Regions from separate parts of the Homo sapiens genome. Here region 2 is linked to region 1. The links are contacts of gene promoters, found by promoter capture Hi-C in blood cells and fetal thymus (Javierre and others, 2016). All regions are on one chromosome and are shown on one strand. Each heading gives the region's core, a stretch centred on a gene start or on the middle of the fragment in contact. The rest is flanking DNA. Distances are from core to core; before and after follow the strand shown.

Region 1 (6,923 bases), core at 2,075-4,574:
TTTTTAGTAGAGACGGGGTTTCGCCATGTTGGCCAGGCTGGTCTCGAACTCCTGAGCTCAGGTGATCCACCCACCTCGGCCTCCCAAAGTGTGGGATTATAGGCATGAGCCACCGCGCCTGGCCTCTTTTTTTGATTTAATAAAGTTTTATTTTTGCAAATGTACAGTTGGTTGGACCTGTTCATGTATCATCACCAGCAGCTATAACATCTCCACCCTTGGTATTTCTGATGTAAATTACTTGAGCTCTGTGCTTTGAAACCAGTTTGTTAAGTCCTTTACTAAGGTTCTCCTGAAGGGCTGCCCTGGCCAGGAAGCCTCGAATCTTCAGTTTCTCAGAGACCACAGCAGGGCTTATAAGTTTATGGTTAGGAAGTTCCTTACAGAGTTTGTCATAGGTAGGTTTGTCAAACACGACTCAGTTATTGAGCTTGTCCCGGACTTTGCCTTTGAACCACTTCTTCTTTTGGGCCCTGCCCCCAGATTTGTTCACTGAATCTTTGTCTTTCTTAGCGACTTTCCGGTGTCTTCGTTCTTCTTGTCATCCATTGATAGCACGGCGAAGCTCAGAGAGCAGCAGCGAACCCTTTCTTCCCTCCCTCCCTCCCTTCCTTCCTTCTCTTTCTTTCTTCTTCTTCTTCTTTTTTTTTTTTTTTGCAGAGACGAGGTCGCCCTATGTTGCCCAGGCTGGTCTCAAACTCCTGGGCTCAGGCAATCCTCCTGCCTCAGGCTCCCAAAATGCTGGGATTACAGGCATGAGCCACTGTGCCTGGCCCAGATTCCACTTAGATGAGGTACTTAGGGAGTCTAATTCATTAAGACAGAAAGTAGAAAGGCAGTTACCAGGGGCTGGGGAAGGAAGGATGGGGAATTGTGTTCAATGGGTAAAGAGTTTTAGTTTAGCAAGAGGATAAAGTTCTGGAGACTGATTGCACAACGTGAATATATTTAACATCACTGAACTGTACATTTAAAAATGGCTAAGATGGTTAAGTTTTATGTTATACATATTTTACCACTTTTTCTTTTTTTTGTTTTTAGACAGAGTCTCGCTCTGTCGCTAGGCTGGAGTGCAGTGGTGTGATCTCAGCTCACTGCAACCTCTGCCTCCCAGGTTCAAGCGATTCTCCCGCCTCAGCTCCCTGAGTAGCTGGGACTACAGGCGTGTGCCATCATGCCCGGCTAATTTTTGTATTTTTAGTAGAGACGGGTTTCCATCATGTTGGCCAGAATGGTCTCGATCTCTTGACCTCATGATCCGCCCACCTCGGCCTCCCAAAGTGCTAAGATTACAGGCGTGAGCCACTGCGCCCGGCCAATTTACCACTATTTTTTAAAAAGTGGTGATAACACCATTAACTCAGCAGAGTTCTTGTGGGGATTCATTGAGGGGAGCTGTGGCCAGCTTCTTAGGGTAAGGCCAGCCTCATGGGCCTGTGACCTGTACAGAACCATAGGACCCCGTGCTCAGACAAGCCCTGAAGTTAGTTTAATGCTGCTGTCGCCATCTTAAAGTTCTTTTTTTTTTTTTAAGACGGAGTCTCGCCCTGTTGCCCAGGCTGGAGTGCAATAGTGCGATCTCGGCTCACTGTAACCTCTGTCTCCCAGGCTCAAACAATTCTCCTGCCTCAGCCTCCCAAGTAGCTGGGATTACAAGTGCGCACCACCATGCCCGGCAAATTTTTGTATTTTTAGTAAAGACGGGGTTTCACCATGTTGGCCAGGCTGGTCTCAAACTGCTGACCTTAGGTGATCCACCCGCCTCGGCCTCCCAAAGTGCTGGGATTACAGGCGTAAGGCACCATGCCCTGCCTTAAAATTCTTTTTTTGTTGTTGTTTTTTTTAACTTTTTTTCTCTAAGAGACAGAGTCTTGTTCTGTTGGCCAGGCTGTAGTGTAGTGGCGGGATCATAGCTCACTGCAGCCTCAATCTCCTAGGCTCAAGTGATCCACCTCAGCCTCCTGAGTAACTGAGTAGGACTGCTGGCTACGCCCCCATACCCGGCTGATTAAAAATATTTTTTCTTTTTTTTTTAGAAATGGGGTCTTGCTATATTGGCCAGGCTGGTCTGGAACTCCTGACCTCAAGTGATCCTCCCATCTTGGCCTCCCAAAGTACAGGGATTGCAGGCATGAGGCAACATGCTGGAAGGCTACAATGTTTATTGAACACTTTACTATGCCAGGCCCTAACCACGTCTTGCAAGCCTTCACTCATCTCCTGGGTTTAAGGTGAGAACACTGTAGTCGGAAGCCTTGGGACTTCTCAAGGCCTCACAACCAGACAGCAGCTGAAGGGTATGAATTGGCAATTTGGACTCCAGATAAGTGTTGGTTCCACTAGATGGTGCCAAAAGTAAATGATGATGCGCTGAATGTGCTCTGGGCCTGGGAGGCGGTTGTGTGGGAGATTATAGGAAGTGATGTTAGCAAAGCTCCAATCATCACTAAGAAAGCACACCACCACCCCTCCTGAGAGGCAGCAGCATGAATGGTCAGGTGTCCTGGGTTCAAAGCCAGACTCTGTCACTTACAAGTTGCACAAGTTTGCATAACTCTTTAAATTGATGAAATTAAAAATGAATAATTGTATAGAGAATTCGAGGTAACACAGGTCTATAACGAGAATAATAAACGTCTTTTTTTTTTTTTTTTGAGGCGGAGTCTTGTTCTGTCGCCCAGGCTTGAGTGCAGTGGCACGATCTTGGCTCACTGCAACCTCTGTCTCCCGGGTTCAAGCGATTCTCTTGCCTCAGCCTAGCCAGGATGGTCTCGATCTCCTGACCTCGCGACCCACCCGCCTCTGCCTCCCAAAGTGCTGGGATTACAGGCGTGAGCCACCGAGTCTGGCCCAGATAAACACTTTTTAAAAAAAATTATTTTATTTTTATGTTATTATTATTATTATTATTTGAGATGGAGTCTCGCTCTATCGCCCAGGCTGGAGTGCAGTGGCGCAACATCACCATTTCTTCAGATAAGGAAGCCGAGGTAGAAGGGGTAGGAGAGGCTAAACAGCGGATTGAGACCGAACCCAGGATTCGGACCTAATCATCACACCGCTCTACCTTTCTTTTTAGACTTAATCCCGTGCTCCAGACCCTTCTCAATCTCCTTTCTGGGCCCCGAGAGGGTGGACGGCCTGGCATTTCCTAGGATCCAAGCCCTGGGCATAGCGGCCGCCCGAGGTATGGAGCCCAAAGGAGCCCCAGGCAAGTCTGACTCCGGAAATAGTCGCAGCGCCGGCGGTCGCGTCCTGGGTTGCCAGGGCGCCGCCCTGGAAGTAGAGTGCAGCGCGGGGCGGGGCGGGCCGGTGCGCCTGGCAGTCGGCTGCGTACTCCTGCGAGCGCCGGAGAGGGGCTGGAGGCGGGGCGAGGGCGCGGCTCGAGGCATCCCTGCAGGGCGCTCCTCCGAGTCCCTCGGCGCTCTGAGCCCACAGGTGAGGTCCTGTCCCCCAGGCCGCCGCCTCCCGGGCACCGAGGGTGTGGCTGCGCGCGGGCTGGCGAGTGCGCATGGGTGAGAGAGTGTGGGCGCCAGTGTCTACGCGGCTGCGAAAATGCGGTTCAGATGCTGCTTGCCGGATCCGCGTCCTCCAGGAAGCCCGCGCTAACCACCGTGCCTTTCTCCGTCCGCTGAGTTCCTATGACTTACCTCGTGCTGTCCGACTGTTGCAATTGCATCATTATGTTTATTATTTGTTATCCCAGACTTTCATTGTTCCTACACGTTTCCCATTCGTTTGCAATCTGTGTTGTTTCTGTTGGCATCTTTTGCAGGGCGCAATGTACCTGTGGAGAGAACTCAGGGCAGGAGACAAGAGCCTTGTGTCTTCCCTCTAGATGACTGGACCAAGACATTTCCCCTCTCTGATTCCCTATCAGCTAAGAGGGCAGGGCGGGGTAGTCATCCTTTTCCATAGAGTAGCTGGGGCATTAGAGGAGATTAATTCTGGAAGTGAAAGTATCTTATCATTGTTAGCCCTTTTGGCATTTGCAAAGCAGGTTCTTTGCTCAGGAAACGTTTGATGAGCACATTATGGTGCCGGGTTGTGGCGGTACAAAAAGATGGGCCCCGGCCGGGCACGGTGGCTCACGCCTGTAATCCCAGCACTTTGGGAGGCCGAGGCGGGAGGATCACGAGGTCAGGAGATCGAGACCATCCTGGCTAACACGGTGAAACCCCGTCTATACTAAAAATACAAAAAAAAAAAAATTAGCCGGGCATGGTGGCGGGGGCCTGTAGTCCCAGCTACTCGGGAGGCTGAGGCAGGAGAATGGCGTGAACCCGGGAGGCGGAGCTTGCAGTGAGCCGAGATTGCGCCACTGCACTCCAGCCTGGGCGACAGAGCGAGATTCTGTCTCAAAAAAAAAAAAAAAAAAAAAAAAAAAAAAGATGGGCCCTTCTCTGCCCTCAAATTACAGACACTGGTAAGCAGTCACTGTGGAGCATGGTACTGTCACCCAGTGCGGGCGTGGAGATGGACAGTGACAATACCGCTGTGAACGAATGCCCTGCTCAACATGAAGTCATCACTGACATTGTTATTACTTTATTTATTTATTTATTTATTTTTAGACGGAGTCTTGCTTTGTTGCCCAGGCTGGAGTGCGGTCGCTCTCGGCTCACTGCAACCTCTGCCTCCTGGGTTCAAGCGATTCTCCTGCCTCAGCCTCCCATGTAGCTGTGATTACAGGCACGCGCCACCATGCCCCGCTAATTTTTTAAATTTTAGTAGAGATGGGGTTTCGCCATGTTGGCCAGGCTGGTCTCGAGCTCCTGACCTCAGGTGATCCGCCCACCTCGGCCTCCCAAAGTGCTGGGATTACAAGCGTGAGCCACTGTGCCTGGCCATATTCTTGGTTTTTTTTTTTTTTTTTTGAGACCGTCTCACTCTGTCACCCAGGCTGGAGTGTGCAGTGGTGCGATCTTGGCTCACTGCAACCTCTGCCTCCCGGGTTCAAGCAATCCTCCCACCTCAGCCTCCCAGATAGCTTGGATTACAGGCGCCCACCACCACGCCCGGCTGATATTTGTATTTTTAGTAGAGATAGGGTTTCACCATGTTGGCCAGGCTGGTTTTGAATTCCTGACCTCAGGTGATCTACCCACCTTGGCCTCCCAAAGTGTTGGGATTACAGGCGTGAGCCACCGTGCCCTGCTAAGAATCTGTATTTCTTTTTTTTTTTTTTTTTGAGATGGAGTCTCACTCTGTTGCCCGGGCTGGAGTGCAGTGGCGTGATGCCAGCTCACTGCAACCTCCACCTCCCAGGTTCAAGTGATTCTCGTGCATCAGCCTTCTGAGTAGCTGGGATTACAGATGTGCACCACCACGCGCAGCTAATTTTGTATTTTTAGTAGAGACGGGGTTTCACCATGTTAGCCAGGCTGGTCTCGAACTCCCGACCTCAGGTGATCCACCTGTCTTGGCCTCCCAAAGAATCTGTATTTCTAACAAGCTCCAGGTGCTGCTCACATGTGGGCCATGCTTTGAGTAGCACTGGACTAAATGATTGCTTACAACCCAAGTGCCATGGAGAAAATAAAGTGACAATGTGGTGGAGTCAGGAGGATTGAGATTGAGTGGTTGGGGAAAGCCACTCTGAGCAGTTGACTTTTGAGAAGGGACAGATCTGGAGGACGAGCAAAGGCTTAAGACAAAATGCAGCCTGTGGGGTGTCAGGAGCTGAAAGAAGGCCAGGGGCTAAAGAGGGTTGGTGAGAGACAAGGCCTAAGAGGTGATGGTCCAGATCTGCAGGGCTGGCCTCGTAGGCCATGGAGGACCACTAGCTTCATTCTGAATGCAGTATGAAGCTACTGTGGGGTAGTGAGCAGGGTGACATGGTTAGTGTTGTGTGTGTCACACATTGGTCCGCTGCTGGGTGGGAAATGGGTTGTAGTGGAGTGAGAAGAGTAGCAGGGGACAGAGTGGGGCCTGCTGCAGTTGCCCAGGAGAGAGGGGACATTATGGGAGTGGAGGATGGATTTGGAATCTTCTGGAGTGGAGCTGACCTGATTTGCTGCTGGATCAAATTAACCATCCCTTCCTTCCCCGGCCACAGTTGAACTGTGATGTGTTGTTGAAGCCCTTTGCTGCAGGCAGGCCTTACAGCTTGTTAAATGTGTCTCCTGTGCTCCTCGCCCCCATCTGGGCTCTCAGTTTAATGTCTGTCTGTTACAGGCCTGGCACTGAGTGGCTGTCAGGGCTGTGTGGGTGGATGAGAAGTTAGACCACCAGTGGCCCTGATATCCAGGGTGTTCATGGGAAACCTTCTCTTTGAGCTCATGACGATCCTACCCAGTTGCCCCAGGAGCGAGACCCAGGTTGTCTTCTGAAAATAACCAGCAGCTCTCTGGTTTCAGGATGGCTTTCTGTGGTTGACACACTTCAGGTGGTGACAGCCCCAACTCCAATTGTGAGCTGCATTCAACATAAAAGGTCAATATGTCACTCTGTTTTTCCTGGTTAGGTTTTTATGATGCTCAGTTTAGAAAGTGACGTAAGATTCAGATGCATCAATTCACGTGAACCAGGAGAGATAATAACACGTTACTCAGTACCCTTAACCCCACTTCCGTTTTCTGTTTTAGGAGGAAGCAACAATAAAACAATCTGATATCAGGTATTTATTTACTTTTCTAAGGAAAACGGCTTAGTATTGCTTAGGGTTGGGAAGGAATCACCCATTCTTCCACACTGTGGGGCGTGGCCCGGTGGATCACTTGTCTACACACGATTTTGGAGCCCCACGCTAGGCCTGGCTGGCTGCGTGCCCGACATGAGAACAGACACGAGTCAGCCCACTCCTGAGCCAGCCCGCTCCTGAGCCAGCCCACTCTGCTGCCCCGCAGGAGGTTGCTATCTAATGTGGGAGGCACATGTGAAATAACAGTTGCCATCTGGTGTGGGAGGGAAGCGTGTAGGCT
Region 2 (6,533 bases), core at 1,636-4,135, 190 kb after region 1:
AGACCAGCCTGACCAACATGCAGAAAACCCGTCTCTACTAAAAATACAAAATTAGCTGGGCGTGGTGGCGCATGTCTGTAATCCCAGCTACTCGTGAGGCTGAGGCAAGAGAATCGCTTGAACCAAGGAGGCAGAGGTTGTGGTGAGCCGAGATCGCACCATTGCACTCCAGCCTGGACAACAAGAGCGAAACTGTCTCAAAAAAAAAAAAAGAAAAGGAAGGAGGTTCTCTTTCCCAAGGTGGGCACAGCCTGGAGAAGGCAGGGGTGCTGTATGCAGAGAAACCTGTCTGGGAGCCAGGGATTCCCACGACCTTTGTCCCCGCATCCTCCACCTGGAGGATGGGCAGCTCCCTTTTTTGGCTCGCATGCCCTGGGTTCCACTGAGCAGCCCCATTCTCTGGAGGCTGCTCTCAATTCTTCCTTCCAGGATGTCCCCACCCCCGCCAGCCTTCTGAGCCCCACCAGTCCCCAAGCCTGACACCCTTCAGGATGCAGGCCTAGCCTTCCCAGTTTCTCAGCATCTGCCCTCCCTCATTGCCATTTGCTCCCTGTGTTCTGTGTTCCATTCCCAGCTGACTTCTCTCAGGGCCCCAGGGTTGCCATGTGGACACACCTTCCTTTTGCCAGTGCTGTTCCCTGTGCCTGGAATTATTTTCCTGGCCTCACCTTTAATCTGGCCAGCCTCCTACCTGTCCTTGAAGATGCCCTTTGGATATTGCGTTCAGGATACCTCTCACCCCCTCCTCCTAGTGCCCCAGTTCCAGTGCCCTGTGCCCAAGCACTGAGTCCCTCAGTAGGTACATGCTTGGCCCTCCGTCTGCCAGGCAGTCCCTCAGGGGAGTGAAGGGATGTCCAGGCACATGTATGCTGAGCATTTGTCTTTGGTAGCTTAGTTTCTGAGTGGAGTGAGCCTGAATTTAGAGGAAGTTAGGAACATAGCTTCATACCTGGTTCAAAAATGAGGATTTTGTGAATGAAGCAATTAATATGTTTGGAAGAAAGCATGCTTATATTCAGTTTCTACCTAAAGTTTTCTGCCATTTGGCTATCCCAAAACAACCTAATGTTTTGAAGAAGTAGAAGAGAGGTTTTTAATTACAAAACTGATAGAGCAGAAATAGTTAACTATATATGTGCTGATTTTAATGTATGATCGATTTGTCAAATATTTGAAAATTAATTTTCTTGCATTGTAAAAACTAGTCATTATTATACGTTTGATTTTTTAAAAAATATATTAAAAAGGGAACAGGCCAGGCGCTGTGGCTTATACATGTAATCCCAACACTTTGGGAGGCCAAGGTGGGAGGATCGCTTGAGCCCAGGAATTCAAGACCAGCCTAGGCAACACGGCAAAACCCTGTCTCTGCAAAAAATACAAAAATTAGCCAGGTGTGGTGGTGCGTACCTGTAGTTCCAGCTACTCTGGAGGCTGAGGTGGGAGGATCACTTGAGCCTGGGAGGTTAAGGCCACAGTGAGCCATGATTGTGGCACTGCACTCTAGCCTGGGCAACAAAGCAAGACCCTGTCTCAAAAAGAAAAAAAAGGAACAAACTTTACTCAAGAAGGCATACAGATGGCAAATAGTCATAAGAAAAGATTTTCAGTATTATTAGACTTTAGAAAGATGCAAATTAAAATCACAATGCAATATTGCTACACTAAGTAGAATGGCTAAAAATAACAAAACAGAACAAAACACCCTGGCAATACTAAGTGCTGGGAGCATGCAGGACAGGGAAGTCTCATACGTTGCTGATGGCAGTGCACAGCTGTCCAGTCACTTTGGGTAGCAGTTCGGCAGTTTTGTTAAACGTACAGTTAACATTTCCATTCCTAGGTATTCACCGAAGAGTCATGGAAGCTTATGTCCCCACAAAAGACCAATAGATGAACGTTATAGCTTCTTTATTCATAATTCCCCCAAACTGAAAATGACCCAAGCAACCTTCAGCAGGAAGAATATGGATAAACCAAAGAGTGGTATAACTACCCAATCGAATACTACTTAGCAGTAAGAAAGAGTGAACTTCTGATAGTGGTATACCTACACAGTCGAATACTACTTAGCAGTAAGAAAGAGTGAACTTCTGATAGTGGCATAACTACACAATCGAATACTACTTAGCAGTAAGAAAGAGTGACCTTCTGACGTAGATAGCAACATGGATCAGTCTCAGAAACATTATGGTGGGTGACAGAAGCCAGTCTCAAAAGCCAGGCTGCATACTGTGTATTCCATATATCCTTGCCATCCTGGAAAAGGGGCAAAAATCATGTCTGTGGTTGCTGGGGGCTGTATGGGGAGGGGATGGGCTGCAAGGGGGCACAAAGGCACTTCATGAGAGATGGAAGTGTCCTGTTCCTTGCTGTGGAGGTGGTAGACAGTGGTATATGTTTGTCCACATTCAGATCTAAGTGTACCCTGTAGTGGGCAGTTTTGCCTGTGTGTAGATTCCATCTCGACCTAGAGAAGCAGCCAGCAGTAGCTCTGCTCCTGGGACGACTGCAGTGCTTTGCCCAGGGAAGTGGAAAGGCCACATTGCTCTGTCCCTGGTGGTTTATGGCGATAGAGACTTCCAGTGATGGCCTTCACCGGCCACCACACAACCGTTTCATTAAAGGGACAGCAGGGCCGATGTTGCTGGGGTGCCTCGGTCCCAACTGTTTGGCATACTGCCCTTCTCCCGTTGGCTCTGTGCTCAGCCAACTTGCCTCTTGTCCCCAGCAGTGGTCACAGGACCAGCACAGGCTCCTCTGCAGCCTCTAGGACCAACTGGGAGCTTATTTGGAAACCTGAAATGTGTACTTACGGAAACACTCTTCCTGTATTCATCACGGATTTCCACATTTCAAGAGTTGTCATGTAAATGTGTATTTGCAGCTCCTGTGTGTGCCGATGGGTGGTACCAACATGTGACTTGTTAAGAAATATCCTTTTCTTTTCCCTAAACCTTTAACCAGTGGTTCTGAAAATCACAGAGATAAGCAGGTTTCAAGAGAGCCAAAATACATGATTTGATGGTGATTACCAATTTGAATACTGTTGGTAATAGGCAGATGAAAACCAGCTCTGGGTTGTGGCTTCATGTCGACTGTCAAGGCTAAGTTAGGGCCGTGTTACCTCAGCTCCTCCTACCACCAGCTCAACGATACTGAGTTGCTTGTTGGGTATTTTTTTCATCCTGCTGTAAATTTCAAAATGACAGTAAGGCCTCATTTTAAGGGAAGCAACCACATAATGTCACTTCCAGTGAGCTGTGAAAATGCTCACTTCCGACTTCCTCACAGGAGCTGCTCTAGTTTGGAGTGGATGCTCAGGTTCAGCTCATGTTTTGACGAGCTGCCGAGCTGCCAGCCTTGCTGGGGGAGGTCTTTGGAGGGAATGAGTAGAGCCGGAAGTCTCATCTGCCTCTGGAGAAGGCTGCCCAGGCTAACCACCTTCCAGGGGTCTTTGCTTTTCACCAGGATTCTGGTTCTCACAGGAGTGGAGTCATCTCAGCCCATGTAGCTCAGCCTCAGGGACAGCCCTTCCTCCAGGTGCTGCAGCCCCCTTCCCTCCCCTTGCCCATCTCTGTGCAGGGCCAGGCAAAGAGATTTTAGAAAAGGTAAAACTGACAAGGGGTTGACTAAGATTTTTGAAGGCATTGGGAGAAAAAGGCTGAAAAGAGATCGTTTTTCTGTCATATTTCCTCTGGGTGCTCAAGTTATCAGCGACTGTAGCCTTTCAAGCCAGCAGCTAAAAGAATGAAACATATCGAACATTTTCGTTTTCACCCCAAATTAGCCATTAACATTTCCTCAGTTACTCTTTTATTACTTATAACTTTGATGAACTAGTTTTTCTTTTCATATACGAAAAAAGGCAGTCAAAACTCAGCTTAGCCCTGACAAAGCTTTGCCATCAAGACAGTCCTACTTGGAACCCTTTGAAAAACTGCCTTTGGGCTGGGCGCGGTGCCTCACGCCTGTAATCCCAGCACTTTGGGAGGCTGATGTGGGTGGATCACAAGGTCAGGAGATTGAGACCATCCTGGCCAACATGGTGAAACCCTGTCTCCACTAAAAATACAAAAACTAGCTGGGTGTGATGGCATGCGTGCCTGTAGTCCCAGCTACTGAGGAGGCTGAGGCAGAAGAATCACTTGAACCTGGGATGCGGAGGTTGCAGTGAGCCGAGATCGTGCCACTGCACTCCAGCCTGACGACAGCGAGACTGTGTCTCAAAAAAAAAAACAATTGCCTTCAGCTCCAGCCTAGCCACTGTGGCTGCAGGATCTTGACAAACCACGTAACTTCTCTAAGCCTTTGTTTCCTCATCTGTAAAATGGGGACACTTATTCCTACTAGGTAGGGGAGACAGTATTTGGAGGTGTAAAACACCTAGCAGGTCGCCTGGCACATGGTAGGTGCTCAGGAAGTGGAAAAGTTTTTACAGCTATGATTGGGAAGTAATAACCCAGCACATGATGGATGACATCAAAGCAGAAGGCTTTGGTTAGATGTCACCTACTCCAGGAAGCCAGCCCCAGCCCCTCAGTCTGCGTGAGGTGCCCGTTTAGGCATCCTCAGCCCCACCCCTTCCTGAGCCAGTCAGCCTCCCTTCCTGACCCACAGCCCAGTTTCTACTTGGTACCCAACCTAAAGAACATTGAGAAGCCCCCGTTCACTGATGTGTATGATCTTATTAATAATAAAAATAGAGAGGCTCATTATCTAACTACACGGAGTGCCTTTCAAACTCTTGGAGAGGGGTGTGGTAAACATGACCCCAGGGGCGCATCAGGGCCTGGTTGGCATGGAGGCCATTTGTGCCACAGCCAAGGACAGGCTGCCCCAAGCCCCCTGCCTCCCAGCTGGTTCTCTCTCCTAGGTCGGGAACTACAAGCGGACTGTGAAGCGGATCGACGATGGCCACCGCCTGTGCAGCGACCTCATGAACTGCCTGCATGAGCGGGCGCGCATCGAGAAGGCGTATGCGCAGCAGCTCACTGAGTGGGCCCGGCGCTGGAGGCAGCTCGTGGAGAAAGGTATGGGGCCCCGGCACAGGTCCTGTGGCCTGGAGGCAGCTACACCCCAGCCGGGGGCTCTGGGCACGTTGTGACCCTCTCTATGCCAGTTTTCTGTCTTTTAAGATTGGGGCAAGAGTGCATTTCCCAGTTCCAGAGCGGGGTGTGATTTTTATGGGGAGCATTAGCGCCCATCACCAGAAGGCACAGGCTCCATGAGCTTTTGTCCACTTTCCTTGGGGACACAGGACTATAGCCCTTGTCATCCATAGGACACACTTGCACTTGCCGAGTTAACTCAGAACTCGGGTAAGTTCCTATCACGTGGAAGGCCTTGCCGCTTGGCACCTTAGTTTCTAACACTGAGAGCTGTTTATTTTTAAACTTGGCCATGTAGCAGGTCAGATAAGACTAGCTGGCAACACCTGGCAGTCTTTCTGAGTTTACATTTTAAGGGAATAATTACAGGTGTTGTATGGCAGAGGTTTCACCCCCTTCTGTCCCCACCGAAAAGCTCAGAAGATTCTGTAGCTTTATTAGTGCCACTGTTGTGTGGACAGGGGCCATGCTTAGAACACACTTCCCAGCAGGGAAGGGGAACTTGACTGATTACAGCCTTTCCGGCACAGAAGCAGAGCAGTGTGGGTTTCTCAAGGTGTGTTTTGGGGCAGGCTTTCCTGTGCTGACCAGCTGTCCTCAGCCCCAGCTGTCCTCAGCCAATCAGGGGAGCCAGGTCCCAAGCAAGCCAGGTCTAGTCCAGCTGCCTGTCCTTTCCCGTGATGCTGACATGGGTTGTTTGTGTGGGCTTAGCACAGTCCTTAGGGCAGGGTATGTGCCCAGGCTGTGGAGCAGGCACGTGGCAGAGGAGGGGCCTAGGATAGGTCAGCTCCCTTGGTCGGTGGCAGTGTCGTCATTTCGTTTCCACCTGCTGCAGCCCCTCTCCCAGGATCAAGCTGTCAGTCAGAGCTTGAGGTTTACAGAGCACCCTTACCACCCTCACCTTGTGGGTCTGGCTGTAACGTTGTGGACAGGACAGGAATGTGCTCATTTTGTAGACACGAAGGCACAGAGAGGTCCAACTTCCGGGGCTGTTCTCTGTTGTCTCCAAGCCCCAGAGTCACGTGTCCCCCTCTGGGTTCTCACAGCCTGCCCTCCCCTCAGCCCACCTCTGTCATGACTCAGCGCACTTGGTCACTGTCCCTGTGACCACCTTGAAGACCAGCCATGGATCTTCTCGATTTCTGCCCCGGCTCCGTTGTGGCTCTCCCTCCCTCCAGCCTCACGCCACCCCACCCTACCCCCTGAATAGAAATGCCAGCCTGGATTAGGGCTTCCTTCCTGAGCCTCGGGGACTGAGAACAGTGAGTAGGGAGAGGCGACTCAGCCCCTCCTGCCATACTGGTCCAGAGCAGGCTCCTGCTTCCTCCTCTCCTTCCTCCTGCAGGATGGGCTTCCATTCTGCTGAGGGGACAGTCCTCATTCCACAGTGTTCTCAAGCTTGTGCTCAGAGCCAGGCTCTTT

What was found. The method cuts DNA at HindIII sites, captures the fragments that hold promoters and counts their contacts. A CHiCAGO score of 5 or more calls a contact.
Region 2: a fragment that was not itself captured here is called in contact with the fragment with the promoter of TTLL1 in region 1 in 1 of 17 cell types (M2 macrophages); the score reaches 5.1 in M2 macrophages.

The regions. Positions count from the first base shown.
Region 1 is chr22:43,085,792-43,092,714 of GRCh38, reverse strand. TTLL1 (TTL family tubulin polyglutamylase complex subunit L1) reads left to right here and starts at 3,324. Exons shown (of 11, transcript NM_012263.5): 1 at 3,324-3,438. It also overlaps the pseudogene RPS25P10. RefSeq lists silencers at 2,350-2,409, 3,158-3,452, 3,217-3,556 and an enhancer at 3,158-3,452. The HindIII fragment of the contact is 9,359 bases long and covers 1-6,923 here.
Region 2 is chr22:42,891,957-42,898,489 of GRCh38, reverse strand. It overlaps PACSIN2 (protein kinase C and casein kinase substrate in neurons 2), which reads left to right. Exons shown (of 11, transcript NM_001184970.3): 3 at 4,877-5,033. Among named protein-coding and RNA genes, the nearest start is that of ARFGAP3, 38 kb to the right of the region's middle. RefSeq lists enhancers at 1-151, 152-928, 5,368-5,467. The HindIII fragment of the contact is 2,032 bases long and covers 1,870-3,901 here.